6 separate regions of the Homo sapiens genome follow, and all the other regions are linked to region 3. The links are contacts of gene promoters, found by promoter capture Hi-C in blood cells and fetal thymus (Javierre and others, 2016). All regions are on one chromosome and are shown on one strand. Each heading gives the region's core, a stretch centred on a gene start or on the middle of the fragment in contact. The rest is flanking DNA. Distances are from core to core; before and after follow the strand shown. Region 1 has its middle 24 kb from the start of ADAM28. Region 2 has its middle 51 kb from the start of ADAM28. Region 3 holds the start of SLC25A37 (solute carrier family 25 member 37). Region 4 has its middle 70 kb from the start of ADAM28. Region 5 overlaps ADAMDEC1 (ADAM like decysin 1). Region 6 overlaps BIN3 (bridging integrator 3).

Evidence for each region. The method cuts DNA at HindIII sites, captures the fragments that hold promoters and counts their contacts. A CHiCAGO score of 5 or more calls a contact.
Region 1: a contact is called between a fragment that was not itself captured here and the fragment with the promoter of SLC25A37 in region 3, in 4 of 17 cell types (M2 macrophages, M0 macrophages, total B cells and 1 more). The highest score is 6.7, in M2 macrophages.
Region 2: a contact is called between a fragment that was not itself captured here and the fragment with the promoter of SLC25A37 in region 3, in 1 of 17 cell types (total B cells). The highest score is 5.7, in total B cells.
Region 4: a fragment that was not itself captured here is called in contact with the fragment with the promoter of SLC25A37 in region 3 in 1 of 17 cell types (total B cells); the score reaches 5.3 in total B cells.
Region 5: a contact is called between a fragment that was not itself captured here and the fragment with the promoter of SLC25A37 in region 3, in 4 of 17 cell types (M2 macrophages, total B cells, M0 macrophages and 1 more). The highest score is 8.1, in M2 macrophages.
Region 6: a fragment that was not itself captured here is called in contact with the fragment with the promoter of SLC25A37 in region 3 in 1 of 17 cell types (neutrophils); the score reaches 7.1 in neutrophils.

What each region holds. Positions count from the first base shown.
Region 1 is chr8:24,268,038-24,271,856 of GRCh38, reverse strand. No RefSeq gene overlaps it. Among named protein-coding and RNA genes, the nearest start is that of ADAM28, 24 kb to the left of the region's middle. The HindIII fragment of the contact is 4,732 bases long and covers 1-3,819 here.
Region 2 is chr8:24,241,581-24,245,054 of GRCh38, reverse strand. No RefSeq gene overlaps it. Among named protein-coding and RNA genes, the nearest start is that of ADAM28, 51 kb to the left of the region's middle. The HindIII fragment of the contact is 762 bases long and covers 1,078-1,839 here.
Region 3 is chr8:23,526,976-23,530,768 of GRCh38, reverse strand. SLC25A37 (solute carrier family 25 member 37) reads right to left here and starts at 1,813. Exons shown (of 4, transcript NM_016612.4): 1 at 1,557-1,813. The coding sequence starts at 1,766. RefSeq lists enhancers at 710-779, 2,070-2,119 and silencers at 1,280-1,529, 1,580-1,939. The HindIII fragment of the contact is 6,335 bases long and covers 1-3,793 here.
Region 4 is chr8:24,221,749-24,225,562 of GRCh38, reverse strand. No RefSeq gene overlaps it. Among named protein-coding and RNA genes, the nearest start is that of ADAM28, 70 kb to the left of the region's middle. The HindIII fragment of the contact is 1,021 bases long and covers 931-1,951 here.
Region 5 is chr8:24,399,682-24,403,105 of GRCh38, reverse strand. It overlaps ADAMDEC1 (ADAM like decysin 1), which reads right to left. Exons shown (of 14, transcript NM_014479.3): 11 at 2,806-2,936; 12 at 1,014-1,191. All of the region lies in intron 1 of ADAM7-AS1 (ADAM7, ADAMDEC1 and ADAM28 antisense RNA 1), which reads left to right. Among named protein-coding and RNA genes, the nearest start is that of ADAMDEC1, 17 kb to the right of the region's middle. The HindIII fragment of the contact is 4,870 bases long and covers 1-3,424 here.
Region 6 is chr8:22,664,756-22,668,057 of GRCh38, reverse strand. All of the region lies in intron 1 of BIN3 (bridging integrator 3), which reads left to right. Among named protein-coding and RNA genes, the nearest start is that of BIN3, 2.7 kb to the left of the region's middle. The HindIII fragment of the contact is 2,246 bases long and covers 143-2,388 here.

The DNA.
Region 1 (3,819 bases), core at 893-3,392, 740 kb before region 3:
AGGCCTGACTTTTATTGCATTGAAGCCTAATAATCTGTGCTATCACTCCTGGGTTCTGTCTAGCTCAGCTCAAGCCCATTCTTAAAGGTTTTTTACTGTCCAGACAGGATCTTCGGTGGCTTGGATCAAAACCTCTTATTAAGTTGCAGAGGATCTGTTTTGGCAAAATTAGAAAGATAGCAATGCATACAAAAGCATAAATTTAGCCCCAATGAGATACTGTAGCAACAATTTATAACACCACGTTGAAACCGAGAGTGTTTCTAAGTATTTTCACTGTGCTGTGTGAAACATTGTGATTTTTGAGACATTAAGAGTTTTATTGCTACCAAAAAAGGCAAGGGGTGGGGGAGGGTGGTGTCATTGAAAGTACCATCTAAGCAATGACAAATTCTCAGAAACTTTAAGGTGTTTTGAAAGCTAAACATAAAATGCTAAGCCCCACAGCTGACTGAACAGATTCCCTGTTGGCCAAGAGGACCTCAGAGAAACCTTAAAACCTAAGTCACGATGGAATGGAAGGTCAGACACACTCTGTTGTATCTCCTGCCTTTTGCCTTAGACATAACAACTGACCAGCATTAATGTTAAAATAGAGATTATAAGACTGACAGAATGGACTCTTTGTGGCAATAAGATACTAAATTATAAATGAGACCTAAGGTCATGTAGGCAAGGGTTAAGTCCTGCACTCCTACACTTAAAGAATAAACTATGTTGTAACTGCTACAAGGCTTTTCTTTTTCTCTAGCAGCTAATGGAGCACTAGCCTTGAGATAAGCAATATCAAAACATATGCAGCTCACCAACCATCAGACCCTGACTCATAAGCCCCTGTTCCACCAGGGTGGAATGTGAACATGGGTGGTAGGTAACATGCACGTTTATTCAGTACACATGCATCAGGATCCCCTTCATGGATATTAATAGCTCCTCCTATAGCCTGTTGAATCTGAATACTTAGCCAACCTATTCAGCACAAATCCCTGTTCCAACCCCTGCTTCAGAGTGCCTGCCTTTAGGGCTCTGCTGGAGGCTACGCTTCCTGGCCTATCAGAAGGGTCACCTTGCAGGCTGTAACTCTTTACAAGAAATAAAGTCTTCTTTCCAAATGTATAGATGTCATGATTTTTTCAGTTGAGTTACCTTTCCTGGTGACAAACCAAAATAATACATAGAATTTTCAGAAGATATTTGATCATAGAACTATTTCTGGTAGAAAAATGTTTACTATCTGTTCTAATTCTTTATGGCAGCCAGTCAAACTACCACACACACTTTAATATACTCATCAAACAAACATTTATGAGTATTGTATCCCTCACAGTTCCAGAATGTGCCTGGGTTTAGCCAGGACTTTCTTGCCTAGAGCCTCTGGTGCAATTGTCATTAGTCGGCAGTTGGGTCTGGAAACATCTAAAGGCTCACATTTTCTCATATGTCTGGTGGTAACTGCGGCTGCTGCCTGGGACCCAAGCCAAGCCAGGCGCCATCTGGGCCACCCTCACAAAGGTGCTCCATGTGGCCTGGGTTCTCTTTAGACCCTGGCATCTGAGTCCTAAGGGCAAGTGTCCCAAGACAGACCAGGTGGAAATTGTGTCGTCTTTTATGTTCTACCCTCAAAAGCCATGCAGTGTCAGCCAGGCACAGTGGCTCACGCCTGTAATCCCAGCACTATGGGAGGATGCCAAGGCAGGCGGATCACGAAGTCAAGAGATCGAGACATTCCTAGCCAACATGGTGAATTCCAGTCTCTACTAAAAATACAAAAATTAACTGGGCGTAGTGACATGCGCCTGTAGTCCCAGCTACTCGGAAGGCTGAGGCAGGAGAATCGTGAATCACTTGAACCCAGGAGGCAGAGGTTGCAGTGAGCTGAGACAGCACCACTGAACTCCAGCCTGGGCAACAGAGAGAGACTCCGTCTCAAAACAAAACAAAAGCCCTGCAGTGTCATTCTCACCACATACTATTCATTAGAAACAAAACACTAAGTCAAGTTCACATTCAAGGGAGGAGGAATTAGACCAATGGTCCCCAACCTTTTTGGTACCAGAGACCAGTTTCATGGAAGACAATTTTTTCACTGCGGAACAGGGGCATGGAGGTGGGGGGCACAGTTCTGGGATAAAACTGTTCCACCTCAGGCATTAGATTCTCATAAGGAGTCTACAACCTAGATTCCTCGCGTGCACAGTTCACAATAGGGTTCACACTCCTGTTGTTCCCCAAACCATGCCAGACCCAGCTGTGTTTTCTCGAGGCCCAATAATGAGAAGCAGACAAGGAAAGAAGGAAGTTAATTACTGTAACTAGATACAGGGAGAAGGCTGGAGATAATTCCACCAGACCAACTCAAAGCATCACAATTTTGCGAGTGCTTATGTAGGCTGGGATTATGTGCCTACGTACAGTATAGCATTTGCCTAAGTCTATTGTTAACTAATTTTGTTTTAACTAGAAGGTCAGAAGCAAAAAAATACTAAGTTCGATTAAAAGGGCCCCAGTGCCTTCAAGGCCTGTCTGCTGTGGTACTGGAGTGATTATTTCCATCATATCTCCTTTACAGCTTGGTCCTGAGGGCTGCCTTAGACTCTCCGATGAATCTATTCAAACAGCTGTCTCTGTTACCTTGACTTGTCTCAGATTTTGTCGACCTAAGATTGGTCCTGGCATTAGGAATGTAAAACTGTTTCTATTATTTTGACTTGCTCCAGCAAGGGAGAAGCCCATGCAAGGCTACTACTGGCCGTATGTTTCATTTCTGGCTTTGATGTCTGGGCACCGATTTCCCTAGGTTTAACTATTTGCTCAATGTTAAGGCAGCACTGTGGAAATTTGTGTAACTGGGTGCTATGCAGGCCTGTCTGTGTGATTATCAGGGAGAATTGGCCTGCCACACTAAGATCAGTGGCTGCATTAGATTCTCAAACAGCAGGTGCAGCTCAGGTGGTAATGCTCACTCACCCACAGCTCACTTCCTGCTGTGCAGCCTGATTTCTAACAAGCCACCGGCCAGTAATGGTCCATGGCCCGGGGCTGGGGACCGCTGAATTAGACTACTCCTCTTAACGGGAAGAATGTCAAAAATTTGAGAATATGTTTTTGAATCATCACATCATTTTAGGCAGTATTTCTCAGAAGATAGTTTGGGAAACTCTGAAACTACTTTTAGTAAGAGTCCAGAGTCTGGAGTACTACAGTACTAATACTTCACATTTGAGTCTTATTAACTTATTAACTAAAGCAAAAAAAAGGGCTAAACAAAAAGACAGGGATACCTAGTTGATTTATCACACCCTGTGATCCTGTGTCATATCATACAGAATGTATGAGAGCTCAGTTCTACTTCCAAGTAGGCTGGACTTAAGTTTCCCAGGAGCTGACCAAACCCAAAATCTACCTGGACTCTTCCTGTGCTTTGAACCCTGTATCCACAGTGACCACACATCTGAGTTTCCCTGGGACGGTCCTGGTTTTCTCCTGTTGTTCTGGCCTGTTGATAGAATTGTGTGTCACAGTAAATTATGTAGTGGCTCTCCTAAGCTCTCAATCTAGTACTTTTCATGGCAAAACCGCATTACTTTTGCACCCACCTAATACTGGCAAGCCGTTCTATTCACCTGTAGTTTCTATACCATGCTCATCCCGACTTCCATTTACATTGCCATGCCTGGACTTCTGCAATTTTCCAGTCTGCAAATTCTCTCCTCCAGAGCATTCTGTACTCCCCATTCAGATGGATCTTTCTGAAACATCACTTTGATTGTTCTTGTAAGTCTTCAGCAACATCCCTGCCTCTGACTACACCCAGCTCCT
Region 2 (3,474 bases), core at 209-2,708, 710 kb before region 3:
AAAGTGCTCAATAGGAATGCAAAAATTCATAAAGTTGAGTAACAATTTCATATTCATCATATATCTGGGTTCTTTGGAAGATGTATAAACTCTATTCCTTAAAAAAGTTTACAATCTACTGATTGACAAAATTGAAAGTAGTACAATATAGTATGAGTGGGACAAGATCCTTATACTTCTGCTCCTACTTTGGTGGTTTTGATATCAATACATGTATTAGTCCATTTTCATGCTGCTGATCAAGACATAACTGAGACTTGGCAATTTACAAAAGAAAGTGGTTTAAGGGAGTACTCACAATTCCACATGGCTGATGAAGCCTCACAATCATGGCAGAAGGCAAGAAGGAGCAAGTCACATCTTACACGGATGGCGACAGGCAAAGAGAGAGCTTTTGTAGGGAAACTCTCATTTTTAAAACCATCAGATCTCATAAGACTTATTCACTAGCAGGAGAACAGCACAGGAAAGTCCCGCCCCCCAAGATTCAATTACCTCCCACCAGGTCACTCCCACAACACATGGGATTTCAAGATGAGATTTTGGTGGGGATACAGCCAAACCATATCAGTATGTATAGGAATAACTACCATTTGCAGGATGTCTTCATTATGGCCAGCACTGAGCTTTGTGCTTTAAATAAATAATATTTATAATCCTCAAATCATGCATTTAAGAAAGTCTTTGTTACTGTATGTTTACCTATGACAATATCGAGTCACTGAAGTTCTGGAACTTGCTCAATGTAACACAACTGATGAGTTATATAGGCAGGATATTAACTCAAGTAGCTGACTTCAAATTTAGTATATTTTGAATAAGACTGCATTGACAAAATGAGAATGTTTTCAAACAATGCAGCATTTGCAAATCCATGTGAATGTTTTTTACTTCGAAGTATCCACCATAGGAGGTTATCTCCCTTTTAAATTATTCTAAAGATATTCCACCACTGCCCTAGATCATGTCTTGGAATTATTTTGGAATTAATTTTAGAACCACTCCAGAAGGAAAACCTGTATTACTAAATTTAGTAATCCCTATTTGATTTCACATTTTTTTTAAAAGTCCTAAGCTTCACACATTTTATTTTTATGACAAAGTCTGAGTGAGAATGAGTCAGACCCTGAAATTAATGCCAAAATATTACTGGCAATCAGTAATATTCTCAATGAGTTTCCCACAAACTGTTTCAGCTGCTTCTAACAGGTATAGCAAAACATCTTCAAAAAGATTCTATCAATAAGCTAGAAACTACCAAGAACACCAGAAAACAAAGACTTCCTATCTTTTGGAAATAAAAATGACTCTGTCTTAAATAGTCTGTGAGTTGGTGATGAAATAAAGCAAAAATTTCACAGTATCCCCAAATAGTGATCTAGTCACCCTTGTATATGGACTACAGTTAAAGTACAGCTCAGAGAAAAATTTATAGCCTTACTAAAAATAAATAAATGAATTAAACTTACAAATCCAAAAGTATGAAAAAACAAAATCAACTGAAGGAAAATGAAAGGAGAAACTGTTAAAGGCAGAAATATACCAGAAAAGAGAAAAGAAAATTAATAAAAATGAAAAATAATTCTGTAACAAAATAATCATCTAAATCTTATCAAGAAAAAAGGCAAGCTGCACAAATAAAGGTTGAAAAGACGGAAAATAACCACAAAAATTGAGAAAAAGATATGTAGAATACAACTTTGCACTGTATGCACATAAATAGGAAAATATGAATGAAATGGAAAATACTTAAAGATACATACTATACTCAATTTTCATTTTTTCTTTCTTCCAACCTTGCTGTCTTTGTGATTTGTTAATTTTTTGTGACGGTAAGCTTTGATCCTTTATTCTTTATTTTCTGTGTATCTACTAGAGTTATTTTCTTTGCAGTTACCGTGAGGCTTATATAAAACATTCTATAGTTACAAAGGTCTATTTTGAGCTAATAACAACTTAATTTTAATAACATAAAAAATTCTACAGTTTTACTCCCCTCTCCTCTTGCATACACATTTTATGCTATTGGTGTCTTGCTTTACATTATTTTATATTGTGTACCCATTAACATAGCAACTCACAGGGTAAAGCAAGATATTTTACTTTTTCCAGGCAAACACAATAATATTAGCAATCTGACTAACATGGTATATTATACTAGTGTAGCAGGACAAGCCGCAGACAAAACCCCTCAGACACCGAGTTGTAGAAGGAAGGGCTTTATTCAGCTGGGAGCATCGGCAGACTGACGTCTCCAAAAACCGAGCTCCCTGAGTGAGCAATTCCTGTCCCTTTTAAGGGCTTACAAGCTTTTTATCATTTGAAGAAATACACGTAGCAAACAAGGGAGCAGTAAGCAGGGTTTTATTACTATTATAACTCCTATTGTAAGAGTTTTACATCTTCTTAGCGCTGGGAACCATTTTCCAAACAAGGCCCCAGGATTAAATCCATGCCACACTTGCATGGGCACGTGTGCCAGTTTTGTCATATTTCTAACTATGTCTTCAACTACTTGCCCTAGATCATCTATGTGTAGACAGCAATTAGTAAGGTTAAATTTCCTACAGAGCCCTCTTTCAGCTGCTCACAAGTAGTCGAGAGCCAATCTATTTTGATAGATAGCATTTTTCATCTGAGTTTCTTGCCAGGCCAGAATAGTCAAGGCTCTGCCGGTCTTATTAGTGATTATTTCCAAGACAGATTGTAACCGTATGATTTGGTTGAGCATGTAAATGGGGGTCCGGTATCCCCATGAGCCATCTTGTGCCCAAGTAGCAGGCCCATAACATTGTATGATTCTCTCAGGGGGGCCATTCATTATTTTTCGAATTTCTTATAGCTATGCTTTTTTTTTTTTTTTTTTTTTTTTTTCATGGGAAGCATAGACAGGGAAGCCCAGGAGTTCGCCTGTCTTTATGGGCAGTAGGAAGAAAGATGGTTTAATAATGCCAATAACACAATTACCTGCCCACTGGTTGGGTAATTTGGTGTAAGCTCTATGCCCACATATCCAGTGTAATCCAGTGGGGGCTGTCCAGTCTCGGTGGGACTCCGGGTGGTTCCAAACGGTTTGCAACTTTGGAAATTTACTAAATAGATTTTTCTTAGTGTGGTTTGAACTCCACTAGGTGGCTGTTTTTGTAGTACTATTATACAGTTTTTGCCCAAGGCAGCTGAGTCTTCCCACAGGAAGGGTGAAGTCCTTCCCCACTCTTGCTATATAGTATTGTCTAATGATTGAGGATTTTAGGACCCAGAAGTTATCAGGGTGATTCTTTTGAGCCAGGAATTCATCAGGAACTGGGTCTGTAGGTACTAATTCTCGGGCTTCCCATGGCCATTGATCTTCTATCACAGTTCCTCCACATACATAACATGAAGTGACGTTGAGAGACTGGGCTACATGCTTGGCTAATTGCAAAAACTAATTTCTTGTTTTTCGTGGAATTTCTGGTACTGGCACATTCAGTT
Region 3 (3,793 bases), core at 564-3,063:
AGACACCAGTAGGACTAGGGCCTGCTCAGATAACACCTCCCTGCTCCTAACTTTCCCCAGACTCTGCCCAGGGCAGTTGAGACAACAGCTTCAATCATGGAGAATTTTATTACATTTGAGGGATTCTTTCCCATACAAATGCCACCTGGTATCAGTCCAGTGTCTTTCCTGGAGATGAGAACCATTCCTCTAACTCCCCACTGGGACACTGGAGGGACATATGGGTGATGGCTCAGGCTTAGGTCCAGCAGCACCTTGGAAGCCCATGTCTTTCCTCACTGGACTTCTGCCTGTCCAGACACTGACTGCTGGCTCCAAGCGAGCTCCCCGGAGCCGGGAAAACCCTCTGAGTTATACTTTCTGGCCTTCATACCTGCTCATGCAGGACCAGCATCAGCAACAAGATAAAGCTGCTGGGGGTGCCTCTGTGGGACCTGCCTTGCAAAATAATTGCCACCTAGAGAGGCCTCCGAATCCTCCAAAGCACACTGCAGCTGCAGCCAGAGGATAGGAGGTGGTGTAGGAGCCTGGGCAAGGTAATCGGTTCGCCTCTCTGCGCCTCAGTTTCTTCATCTGTTAACCCCCAGGGCTGTTGCATGAATTAGGCGAGTTATGCCTATAAAAGTGCAACGTGTAACAGTCAATACTGGCATTACTTCCTGCACTACTCTATCCTGGCCCTGGGGTGTTCTGGGCAGGCTGACAGAGGGCAGGTCTCAGTCTACCAGGCAAAACGCACCTAGTAACGCTGCCTCTTTACAGAAATGCAGTTAAAACTACCGGGGCAAGTGACAGACAGGGTTTAAAGGAAACTGAGTGCCTCTCACACAATCCACAGCAAGGGCTGTAAGGCACAAGCCCACCCACCTCCCCGCAAGCAAAAGGAGAAGGCAAACGTCATTGCCTCCCGGCGGCTCGGCGACCCAAAGTCGGGGGAAGAAGTGCAGGAACCCTCAGAAAGGGGATCCCACGGGCCGCTGTCGAACCGGTAAAGAGCTGCCACTAGTCGAGAGAAGACTTGCCGGCCCCAAGTTCCCGAAATAACCCGGGGAGCAGCAGCCACACACCAAGTCCCGAGGGCGCGCGGCCGGGCCAGGGCCACACGTTTCTCAGCTCCAGCGTGGTGAGGGCTTCCCCTGCGGGGAGCTCCCTCGGAAACCGCGCACGTGTGGGCGGCCCCAGCCAGCCCGAACGGCCAGCGTGGTAAGACTGTGCAGAGCTTCAGCGATCGCGTCCCCCGGGAGCCCAGTCGCCGCCGAAGCCAGCGGTGCTCGCCACTCCGCCTCCCCCGCCTCAGCGCCGCCAGCAGCCGGGGCCGGGCACGCGGCTGGAGCAGCGGGCGGTGCGGGGCGAGGACCGGGCACCCTCGCGGGGTCGGCGGAAGGCGCGGCGCCCAGGCTGCGCGCAGCTGCTCCTGGGGCGACCCCGGCCAGCCGCGGTCCTGGGGAGAGCTCGGTTTCGGGACGCTGCCCCGAGGCTGCCGGCGCGCGGGATGCAAATGCGCGCGCGCGCTCCTTCTCCGCTCGTTGCGTCCCCGAAGTCTCCCCGCGCCTCACCTTCACCGAGTCCACCGGGTACATGACCGAGTGCTCCAGGATCCCGGCCATCGCTCCTGCTGTCATGTGGGTGGACACGGAGGCGCTAGTCGGCAGGTTCTCGTAGTCCTCCGACCCGGTGGCGTCCTTGCCGCCGCCGCCATCTCGGCTGTCCCCATCCATCCTCCGCGCCACCGCCTGGCTGCCCACGCTCCCGCTGCGCAGCTCCATCCGCCAGCTCGGCGGGGCGCAGGAGGCTGCAGGAGGTGGGCAGGGAGGGGGAGGGGCGCAAAACTTCACTTCTTAAAGTGGGAGCCACCTCCCCGGGGCCGCGGCGCCTGACGCCATGGCGGGCTGGGGTGGAGCGCAGCGGCCAGAGACACCAATCGCCGGGAACCAAGAGGCCGGCGGCCGCCGCGCCATTGGTGTGCGGGACAGTGGGGACCCGCCTCCCTGTGTGACGTCACCGTCCCGTGCACATTTCCAAGCAACCGGACGGGGGCGAGAGGAGACGTGGGGTGGCCCGGAAAGTTGTACTATCTTGAGGATGGGCTGGTCCGCGAGGGGCAGGGGAGGTCATTGGGGAGGGGCCGCAGTGGGGTATGCCCAGAGCTGGAGGCATGGGTGACAGTGTCTCGGGGAAAATCCGTCCCCGTGGCGGGTGGGTTTGCAAACAGAATCGCTCAGTGAGCTTTGGCATTCCTAAGGCCTGAATTCAAACCTCAGGGGCCCGTTCTAGACTGCTTTGTTGGAGAGACCCCCATTCATTCGAAATTGTTTCTCTCAACCTAAATACATAATGCAGAGCTAAATGTGTTCCTCTTGTTCTCACCGAGAGACCGAACCCACCCTGCCCTGGACCGAGCAAGGCTATAAGGAGTGACCAGGAGGGAGCCCCTCTGAGTAGGCACCTCCAGGAAATTTTCTTTGGGTTTGATAGGCCCATAAGGTCTGTAGAGGCCTGATCTCACAGTTAGGAGTGTGAACTGGCTGAGAGTAAAATCTTACAGCCTTGCCCCTGCCTGTCTTAAGACTGTGGTCACCTAGTTCTTAAAGTCGTCCTAAGCTGGCCTCTTCAATAAAGTGTAACCCAGGCTGTTTTAATATTGTTTTGCTCCAGTCTGGGGAAAAAGGGAGAAATCAGAAAGTAGGGGAGGGACCTGTCTGCCTCTGGAAGTGTCCGTCTAAATTGCGTGTTCCAGGGCTTAAGATGACTTGGGCTGATCAACTTGTAGGCACCAGGGCCTCCCTGCCTTATCTAGACAAGGCTTCTCGTCAGGAAAGCTGGATCCTGAGATATGAAAGGGTGGGGAAGACCCTGAAGAGGCTGAGCCTACTCTCTGCCCTCACCGTGATCAGCATCCCAAGCAGCTCTTAGGGATTTGAGATACAGTAATGTGAGCATGGGTAGAGGTCAATAGAGGCGTCAGGACCAAGAGCACTGTTTGCCTAGTTTTGGTAGCTGCAGATAGTAGCTGGCAAGCTGAGTGCTAAGGATGTGATAAGTAAAAACAGGCTCTGTGTTTTTACTTAGCCATCTCTGTAATGGCTAGAGAAAACTCTACTTTTGTCAAAGGTCGTTTTTAAGAAATACTGATCAGAAGCTGTTGATCCTTATTTTTAAGTGGATGCCCTTTAAGCATTAAGTCTGTAAGAACCCACTGCCCCACTTCTGGGAATGTAACAAAAACCCAAATACACAGGAAGCTCTTCTTCAAAGCATTCCTTAGAGCAGTAAATCATTGGAAACAACCTAAATGGTCAACCAGAAGGGAATGGCTAAGGAAATTATGATGTGTGCATAATATTAGTGAAATATTATGCAGCCTTTACAAGTGGAATTTACATTACACGACATGGACGATGATTATAATGTAATGTTAGGTGAAAAAAACAAAACGAAATTCTATAACCATTGCATTCACAAAGATGTAAATGTGCTCAGGAAAAGAATCGCATGGTTACTGTGCTAGTGATGGAGGCTTATAGGCAACTGCTTTGACTTTATTTTTCAGACTTTAAATAATACTTTTATTATTTCTGTAATTTAAAAATAAAAAACCATTCTTTTTAGGAAATATATACCATATTTACACATACATACACACATCTATATATAGAAGTATATATGTATAGAATATAGATATGTGCATATGTATAAGATATATAGATAGGATATAGAATATACACATATGTACATATATAAAATATGTTGATTTGTGTATATAAATATATATAGATATATGTGTATATATAAA
Region 4 (3,814 bases), core at 192-2,691, 700 kb before region 3:
AATACAGCATTAACTAGCCTGTTCTGACTGACACAGAGAGTGAAAAGAAGTAATAACCTGTTATTAGATAGGAAGTAATTAAAATAACAAGGAAGTAGACTGAAAGACTTAAACAATGAGTCATTGATAAGAAATTAGGGGAAAGGGTGTGAACTACTCATTTAATGTAAAAAGAAGAGAACCTACCTGTTACATCTATAAAAAATGTTATTTGATTTGGGAGGCCAAGGTGGGTGGATCACGAGGTCAAGAGATCAAGACCACCCTAGCCAACATGGTGACACCCTGTCTCTACTAAAAATACAAAAATTAGCTGGGCATGATGGTGTGCACCTGTAGTCCCAGCTACTCAGGAGGCTGAGGCAGGATAATCACTTGAACCTGGGAGGCAGAGGTTGTAGTGAGCCGAGATCGTGCCACTGCACTACAGCCTGGTGACAGAGTGAGACTCCATCTCACAAAAAAAAAAAAAAAAAAAAGTTATTTGGAAAAAGAATCCTAAGAAATAATGGGAAAAATGTGTATTGACACTATACAGGGAATAGTTTCATGTTTGGAAAGTGTTGAAGAAGGCTATATGCAATATACCCGCAGGTGAGAAATGATTGATGAAATTACTGAGTGAACTGCTGTTCATCACAATTCAAAAGTCTGTATTTGGAGAAAATAGCACTTATTACCTAGCAGAACTACAATACCATCTTCTAGCTTAAAAAATAAAACACTAGAAGTGCAGATGTCTCTTGGGGCGATTGGTAAAGGCCTAATCTCCATCTACTAGCTTCTTGGAGAACTAGAGAGTCTTCTTTTGAAGTCACTCATTTGTGTTGCTAAGTGAAGAATACTCTAAGTGAAATATGGTTGATATTCCAATTGGCTACTAACAAAGTAATTTGGAGAGGGTGTCACCGGCTGAGTTATACTCAAGCTTCCATAACAACTATGTAAAAGAAACTTTGTAGTGCAGAAGCAAACTTGACTGTGCGGAATACTGCCCGTTATTTTCACCAAAAGTCCTGGATATATGATCTGGCATAGTTAAACCTTAATAAAACTAATTTTTTTCATGTCCTGCAGAGTTTTGTTAACTCAAATAGAGACTTGAAAGATATATTTCTAAAAACACCCATTTTGACTCTCTGAAATAGAAAAAGATTTTGTATCAAAGGTCCTGAAATAAAAACATAAAATAGAAAAATATAACCTGTTAGTACCAGAGCAGTGAACAGAAACATCCATATAAATAAAGGAGAAGTCAGTAAGTATATCTTGTGAAAGCTACTGAAAGAATCAGAACCCGAGGACTTCAGAAAATCTTGAACTTTCAAAGAAATCTGAGAGAGTATGGCAGCTATGAATTTAGAAGAGGAGGGGAAAAAGTCACTATAGAAAATAAGGATATGATTACTAAACAGAAAAAGTGCAGTGGAGGAACTGAACTGTTTAAATTATTAAAGTAGAAGACAATCTTAAGAAGTCACCTAGAAAAATCAGAGTAAGACAATAAATACAAAAGTGTTAAGAAACAATCAGAATTATAGGTAACAGAACAGAGATGTCAAATGTCATTGTAAGTGAAATTTCAAAAAAGTGAGCTGAGAAGGCATAATAAAGGAAGGAGAAAACTGGCCTAAGATAAAGAAAACCTGAATATTTAGATGTGAAAGGCCTCTTACTAAAAACTAGATAATTTTAATTAAAAATACCCACATCCCCCAATATTTTATCACTAAATATGTTACAGGGACATTTTAAAAATTATTTATAGAAAAAAAATTATATGCTCATCTTAAAATTATATGAACTTTACATAGGAAAATGGAAAATAGTAATACTTAGTTTATCAAAGAAGAAATATATATAGCCAGTAAATGGGTGGGAAAACAAGGATTTAAACGAGAGTGACAACTTTAACTTATTCCATTGGAGTTAATTAAAATAGAATAAAGCTTGATGTTATCAAAAATACACAGAAATATGAACCCTAGAATATTTTTAAGAGCAGAATCAGAGCAAACTGTATGACAATTGAAAGCAGGTAGTTAATGCTTTTTGTAAACTCTTTGACAAAATTTGTTTCCTAGAATGTATCTAAAGGAAAACAATTATCTGTATGTGCAAATATCTAGCCATAAGAATATTCAGCAAGAAAATAAAACAATAGTGTATCATCACAAATTCAGTATCTAACATGGGGCCTTGGGGTAAAGACATTACATTCATGAATCACATACTGTTGATGTATTAGGTTGGTGCAAAAGCAATTGCAGTTTTGCTTCAAAGAATAGAAAAGTATTCATCAAATTGGAAAAGAACAAGTTTTTAAAGATACAAATAGTATATTTTAAGATTATGATCATATCTGCCTAGAATTAAAAAGCCACATGTTCACATTTGTTTTCTGGACAAGATTCCCTAGTCAAACAACCCTCCTTATCACGGGGACCAGGGACACTTAATACTTATCCCTAAGTAGCAGGCTTCAGTTTTTTGCCAGTCCACAGAAATATCAAACAAGCCCATCACATTGCTCCTACAGGAACCAGAAGATACCTCCCGCTTTGATGCTGCAAAGCCCCGCTAACGTCCCACAGCCTCTGGTTGTTTATGATATCCCTCAATGTAATCCCTACGTGGCCCCATGCGTGGCATGTGATGTCCTCTTCCCCTAGGCTGTGAGTGTTTGTGACTAATACACTGTTGTTGATCTCATAGGCACAGTGCTGAGTGTCATGAGTTTGGTCCTCCCCACAACCCTAAGATGGAAATCCCTCCCTCACTAGTGGGAAGAGGAGGAGGCACATAAAACAAAAAGATTAAAGGTTCAGGTGAAATAAAGGAATTGGTAGAGCCATGTCCTAGACCAAGAACAAGCTGATGGTCTCTAACAGATAAATGAGTTAATTTTGCTAAGAAAAAGCACTCCCTTCTATTAAATAGGAGAAAAGGAGGATAGAATGGGAGAAAGGGAGGATAGAATGGGAGAAAGGGAGTGCCATCTGTGGCACACCCAGATGTGTCACTATCCACCCAGATAGAATGGGATATGACGCAGCTGTGGGATCAAATGGGATATGACCCAGCTAGAAGGGGATTGACCCAGGATAGAATGAGAGATGACCCAGCTGTGCCACTATCCACCCAGCTGTGTGGACAGTTTGGGGCTTGTTAGTCAAGTAGGAGGTGATGTCAGCTGCTGAGATCAGAAGCAGTGATAAGGGTTGGGCCTTAAGAAGTGGATTCAACAGGATAATTTTTGCCCACAAACAGCATAACTCCCAGCTAACAGTAATTCAAAGGCAATTAGTTATCTCACTTAATAAGAAGCCTAGAAGTAAGCAGTTGCAGGATGGGGTAAGGATGCTTTATAAATATCAGGGTACAGGATTATCATCTGTGAAATTTCCTTCACCTTTCCCTGAAAGTGGCAAGATGTGGTTGAAGAGTCAAACATCACTATTTTACAGGATATCACCAAAAAGCCAAGAAAAAAGGGAAAAAATAAACACATTTATTATATATAAAATACATTATACATAATATTTATATATAAATATATGTATTATATATAATAAATACATTATATATATTTTACACACACACATATACAGACACTCTTTTTTCAGAAGCTATCAGCAAGTATCTCCTTAATCTCAGTAGCCACAACTGGTCAGGGGTTATTCCAAGATCAGCAACTACCAAAGAAAATGGGATTAGCTTCCACAATGGTTGAACTAATTTACATTCCCTCCGGCAGTGTAAAAGCATTCCTATTTCTCCACAGCCCACCAGAATCTGCTGTTTCTTGACTTGT
Region 5 (3,424 bases), core at 906-3,405, 870 kb before region 3:
CAATGGTCCTCTCTTGGCCTCTTCCTTCATCCTTTCCCCCTTTCTTCTCTGTAAATACATACCATTTACTTGCTGAAACCAGAAGTACCTAGGGTTTTGAGTATCTTCAATTGTCTTCCACCCAAGAAACCATAGATGAATGTAAGCAAGTAAGAACGAGATAAACGTAACTCTAATTTGCTATAAAATGTCAAATCTTTTGTAAAATTCCATGCCTCTTTATAATTAACAGAAAGTTTACAATATTCTTCACAAATGACTAAGTTAGGCTGTGTAGTCTTCTGATCTAATCTAACCAGCTAAAATTTCTGAATACATAAACTGAAGCATAGAGAGTTTAGACGCCATGTTCATTGTCACAGAGCCATCTTAAGTAATGGATACTTCTTGGACTGCATCCTGCTTCACCAGTGGAGCAACAGAATATCTTTTAGAAGGCAATGGGATTGCTAGTGATCAGCATTCTTTAGAGTACATAAATGCCTTGAAGGAGTCTAATTTATATAAATTAGCAGAATCATAGTGCTTATTCTGGATGTTCTATGTTAATAGCCTATTTTCTACAGATTTTTGTGATTATTTTTTCTTTTCCTCTTTCTTCTCTGTTTACAACCTGGTTTATACACTGGCTTGATGAGAAAAGACCAACTCTCCCTCTGAGTAGAACTTACTTCTAGATCTCTAATTGTTACTGTTCAACAGATGATCAACTGTGACATTATGTCGTCTAGGGATTTCTGACTAATACACGTTTTGGAAAGATTGCAAGTGACATGTTATAGTTAACAATTTACTTTTTTACATTTAACTTCATATAATTATGTCAAAATCAAGTCCTAGTTTTTGAAATGCCTTTCAAAGGATTACTAAATTCAGTAGCAAAAACACAAGCACAAATCTCCTTTTTAACTACGATGCCAAGTTTGTCTTTAGAAAGAATTTCCAAAAGAATATTGGAAAACAAAAAGAAAACTGCATAATTCTTCTGCCCCAATAATTCTAATAAATAATACCTTAGGAGAGCCACAATCACAGTCTTCTCCCACTTCTAGAAGGTGGTTCCCACACACTGGTGTTGTCATTATATTTGTAGGAATAGGTGCTTGCAGCAGGCACTTTGGTTTCTGAGATAAAAGGTATCTTTCAAAATGTGCACGGCAAGATGTACTGAAATCCTTTGGGAATTTTGAACTGTAATCAGAAGAAAACTCAAATAATATGATATACAGTGTGGTGCCTTCTGCGTGAAACACAGAATAAAGATAAAGAAACACGAGACTCTGATTTATCTAACTGTATTACCGAGCTCAATGGAAATTCCAAATTTGGCAACCATTTAGGACTGCCCTGTATTAAATGTGGTGGGTGGTAGAGCATGCATACTATGGTATTTGGACATTTTTCTTCCTAGAGCCTAAGTCACAGAGCTGGAAGGATTTCAATTTCCATGTGGCCATTTAATGTTGTTCTAAAGGACAGCAGTGACAGCCATCACCATTTGTAATTATCCACTCATTTTGCATTGAGAATTGAGGGGCAAGAGATAATAATAATGAACCAGTGAAGGGAAGTAGTTGCAGGCTTCTGGGCTTTATGGAAATATTTCTCTCCTTCTTTGTGAGCATTTCAAGAACAAAGTATGTTTTATTTATTTTTCTATCCCAAAGTCTTTGCAAAGTGCCTGGCATTCACAGGTAATTCATAAATATGCAAAAACAGATTGATTGGTTGATTGATGATGGGAATATAAGAAGATCCTGTCATCAACATAATGAGATTAATATTTTTAGAAACTATGGGTTCATTTTCAGTTGGAATTATTTTAAGTTAAAATTATAAGGTCATCATACGTGCAAGCTCTATCTTGGCATATTTGGAAATCTTAAAGAATGAGCCCTGGTAGTTTTTAAAATTTGTGCATCAAGAGACTGGAAGTTGAATTAATGGGATACACAACCCTTGGGAAAAGATATGTCCATTCAACATCTGTAGACTGCTTCCGAATTCTTAAAGATTTGGAAAACTACTCATAATAGCAAAGACTTGGAACCAACCCAAATGTCCAACAATGATAGACTGGATTAAGAAAATGTGGCATATATACACCATGGAATACTATGCAGCCATAAAAAAATGATGAGTTCATGTCCTTTGTAGGGACATGGATGAAGCTGGAAACCATCAATCTGAGCAAACTATCGTGAGGACAAAAAACCAAACACCGCATTTTCTTACTCATAGGTGGGAATTGAACAATGAGAACACTTGGACACAGGAAGGGGAACATCACACACTGGGGCCTGTTGTGGGTGGGGGGAGGGGGAGGGATAGCATTAGGAGATATACCTAATGCTAAATGACTAGTTAATGGGTGCAGCACACCAACATGGCACATGTATACATATGTAACAAACCTGCAGGTTGTGCACATGTACCCTAGAACTTAAAGTATAATATATATATATATATATATGAAAAGAAACATTCATTGCAAGTGTCCCTAAACATAATTTACTTGTAAAATAGCACTTTTGATGTCTTTATGAAACATATATCAGCAGATTACTGTAATCCAAGACTAGGTTAAGAATGTAATATGTTACCCTACACGTTTTAAGATTGTTTTTTGGGTAACACTTTCAATCTATCCTGTTGATTAGTATGTATTTTATAAACAATTTTAAAATCTGTTTTGGAACAACACAAGATCTAATATTTAATTAAACAATAGAGAATAATATGTGTCTTCAGAAAAAAAAAAGATTTGGAAAATATCTCTCTCCTTTTAGGATGACAAGGTCTCACCTCAGATACTGATTCATCACACAACTGCCAGAGGGACACTTGGTGTTGAATGGAACATCAGGCATACCAAGGACATGGCCCAGCTCATGTGACATCACTCCTACAAGAGCCACATTATTCTTTTTTTTAGCCTGGAAAAAGTAGATATATTTATTTATTCTTTTTTTATTTAATTGTTGCCAATGTGCAGTACTTTAAAAATGGCTTAAGAGATGAAAACTAGTGAATTGTTAGCTCCTTTCCCTGTCACTGTGTATTGCAAAACGTTGAAAGAGCATTTAAAGTGGTTGGGTCCTATGAATACTTACATTTTATTCAATAAATATTTGTTGAACTAATGGATACTAAGTTACCAGTAAATCATGGTTGAATTAATTACATTCTTCATAGGAAGTACTCATAGGCACCATATCGGAGGTCTCCAAAACCTATTGCTATGATACCTATGACACTGGAGTTCTTGGCCATATGACACCTGCATGCACCCTTCTTCCTTGTCTGGCCTCTCTGGCCATAGATACTGGGGATGACTAGTATTAGCCCAGGCCACAGAGGGTACTGGATGCCCTTTCTGCTCCAATATTCCTACTCTGATTTTCTAACATGAACTAAAGAATGA
Region 6 (3,302 bases), core at 16-2,515, 860 kb after region 3:
AGATTAATCAGCCCATGGACATAGGGAACATATTTGCCACTCTGTCCTCAGAGGCTAGTGTGTTTGTTTATGCAAAGCGCATGATAACCAGTTATGAATGAATTAAGATAACAGAATGTCCTTCAGGAAGGCTTTTGAAGCTTAATTTTGGCCATCAGTGGAGAACGCAAGCAGCTGATATCAGTCAGTGTCAGGGATACTTCTCTAAAGTAAAATGCGAACCATCTGTCCCCTCCCCCACCTGTTTCTTAGACCAAGATTGATGGACAAATGTCAGACAATCACCGCAAGCACGGGAGGAAAGCCTGAAGCAATGTCCTAATAAGCCCCGGCAGGAGCTTCTGCTTTTCCCTCCACCATTTGCTCCAGGAGGCCAATAAGGGGCTGGAGCCTTAAAAAGCTACCTTCCCTGTCTTGTTATAACCTAGTTAGTGGTGGGCAAAGCGGCAATTCTTCAGTTCCCTTTCCCAGAGGAATTACGTCCTTTCAGTGTCATTCTGGGCCCCCCAGTCTTGCAATATAGATATCCTTTTGGCTGCTGCGTCTTGAATCTTTGGAGTGTTCTTACCTAATTTTTCAAAGTGAAAATGAGGCAGTACAGATGCTTTATATTGCCTAGATTGGCCTTTACTGAACCAATCTTTCCTTCACAAGTTGGGAGAAGAGCACAGCAGAAACTAATAAAGGTAAATGATTCTCTGGGTGATCCGAAGCAGGTTGTTTCCACCTGTCTCACAGAAAGTTTCCCTTCTGAAAAAATAGTAGCCCATTCCTTAAAGGTTATCCTGTCAGGTTGGAGAGAATTGAGATTGACAACTGTCTAACAAGAGCTGAGATTTTCATCTAGTAGCTTTAATTTACCAGTACATGCACATCTTGGTATCTCCTTGGACTGAGAGTCACAGCCAGAAGGGTGGCTTTGTCCCTCAAAGCTGAGATTCCTTTCTCTTCCCCCTTAAAGGGCTTCTACGTCATCTCTTGCGTGGACCCTGACCCTGTCTCTCAAAGACGGGAACAGCACCGGCGCCTGGGCACACAATCACACTCAGTTCCTAGCTCAATGGCTGGCAAGGAGACCGGGGCTGGGTCCTTCTGATTCACTCCCTGAGTGGTTTTCCTGCCCCCAGAATGAATCCATCCATTCATGTGAGACTGGAATTCTCATTAGGGGAAGAGACCAGAGTGACGTAGAGCCATCATGGGAGGCTGATGCCCAAGGTCAAGTTCACCAAGTACATGGGCTGTGCCAAGCCATCATTAAATAAGGCACATGGCCCATGGTCCCCAGAGGGTAACCATTGTTCTGGGCTAGGCTGAGCTTTCAAAATGTCACAGTGAGAAATGTCCAATATTGATGCCCTTTGCACACTGTGGACTTTGCATGAAGAGTGAGAGGCCTTTGTTCTCTGCTTCCTCTGTGCAGGCAACCCGCCCACCCCCTGTTTGTTTAGTGGGTACCTGCTGCCTTCCTGCACCATCTACCCATCCACTCCCCATACACCCATCTGCCTTTCAGAAAAGTGACCCGGTGGTCTGTCCTACTAGGAAGAAGGCATTTGATATTCACATCTCAGATCACAGATTCACTTCTTGGCCTCAAGCCAAATGCTTCTCTCTCTCTCGCTCTCTTTTTCTCTCCCATTGTCCACCCCACCTCCCCCCGCCATTTGCCCCCCTCCCAACTTTCTCTCCTCTCCTCCCCACTCACCCCCTCCCTCCCTATTTCTGTCTCCCTCTTGTCTCCCTTTTCCCCTTCCTGTCTCTCTTCCCCATCTTCCAGTGTATACTCAGGTGGCTTTATTATGGTATGGAGAGAGGATTAAGTAGAATTAAGAATAGTGACCTCAATCTAAGCTGGCTCCAGGAATTGTAGCCTCCTGTTGAACCATACACCTTGATGATTTTAGGCTTAAACGAGGAGGAAAAGGGAGTACTGGAAGAAATCTCCCTATACCTAGGGGTCCAGTAGTTTGACAAAAAGGAAGGAAATTAGAGGCAGAGCAGGTAAGTGTGAGTAGGAGTTAGAGTGCTGCGTTCAGGTTCTGGCTCAGCCACTCACAGTGCGGCCTGGTCAAGCATTGAGCTGTTCTCTGTCTTAGTTTCTCCATCTGTAGCATGGAGTGGCCATTCCTGCTGACAATTTGCCACCTGAGCCTGCTGTGAAATGAGTGGAGTGATATTTTTCTGACTCTTCCGGGGTCTTCTACCTCTGTCTGCCCTTCACACTTTGGTGTTCCTCATGTTTGATCCTTTTTGTTTCTTTCCTGTTTTCACCCTGTAGTCCCTTGCCATCATCTTCAGGATAGAGGCCCAACTCTGGGCCAGGGCTTCTGAGGCCCTCTGGGCCTGGCTGTCCATCTTCACTCCGTGTGTTCCATCCTCCAAGCTTCTCCTGCTCTCTCGTGCCCATGTGCCTCTGGATAACTGTCCCTTCTGCCTGAAATGTTTCCCCTTCACTCACACCCTGTCCACTAGGCCAGCATCTACTCATCCTTCAAGAGTCAGGCCACGCTTCACCTTCTCTGAGGGTCTTCCCTGAGTGGCCCCTCACACCCTGCCATGCTGCACTGGGTGCCGCTCTTCTGACCTTCATCAGCATCTGTACTCCGCTGGCTGGTTTACTTGTCTGTGAGTTCTTGAGTATGGGGACTGTCTTGTGGTCATTGCTATTCCCTAGCACTGTTCCTGGCAGTCAGGAAGTGTTTATTAAATATATGAATGGGGCCTTTTTTCCCTTTTCCTGACTTGCCTCAGCTCAGGAAAAATGTTAAGATAAAAACTTGCAGAACCTACAAACCACTTCCTAAAATGAAGAGCCTCTGAAAGTACTATTGTTAAATTGACCGACACAAGTGGCTTCCAGGTCAGGCTGCCTGTGATTTCTCCTCCCCACTCCTTCTGATCCTCCACTCCAAAGTGCTTTGCTGGGTTTCTTCTGTACTTCCATAGTGCTTCTCCTGTAGCACTTCTGCATCCTTCTGAGTATCACAGACGTACACCTCCCTTCCACACCAACCCCATGAGAACAGGAGCGACATAGAGCTTCTTCATCTTTTTGTACGCATAGTGGGTATCATGCACATAGTGGGTATCTAACAGGTAATTGTTAAATGAATGGAATATAAAGAAGGTAAACTTCTGGGTCAAACAAAACCATTATTCAGTTTTTTTCTCAGTGAAGTCCTTTCCCCTATGATTACCGTTGCTGTCTCACATGTGTAGAGTGCTTCTAACTTTTCAGATGGCTTTCCCGTCCTTTGTCTGACTTCATGCTTATGTCTGCGCAAGCAGTGCAGTCTTAT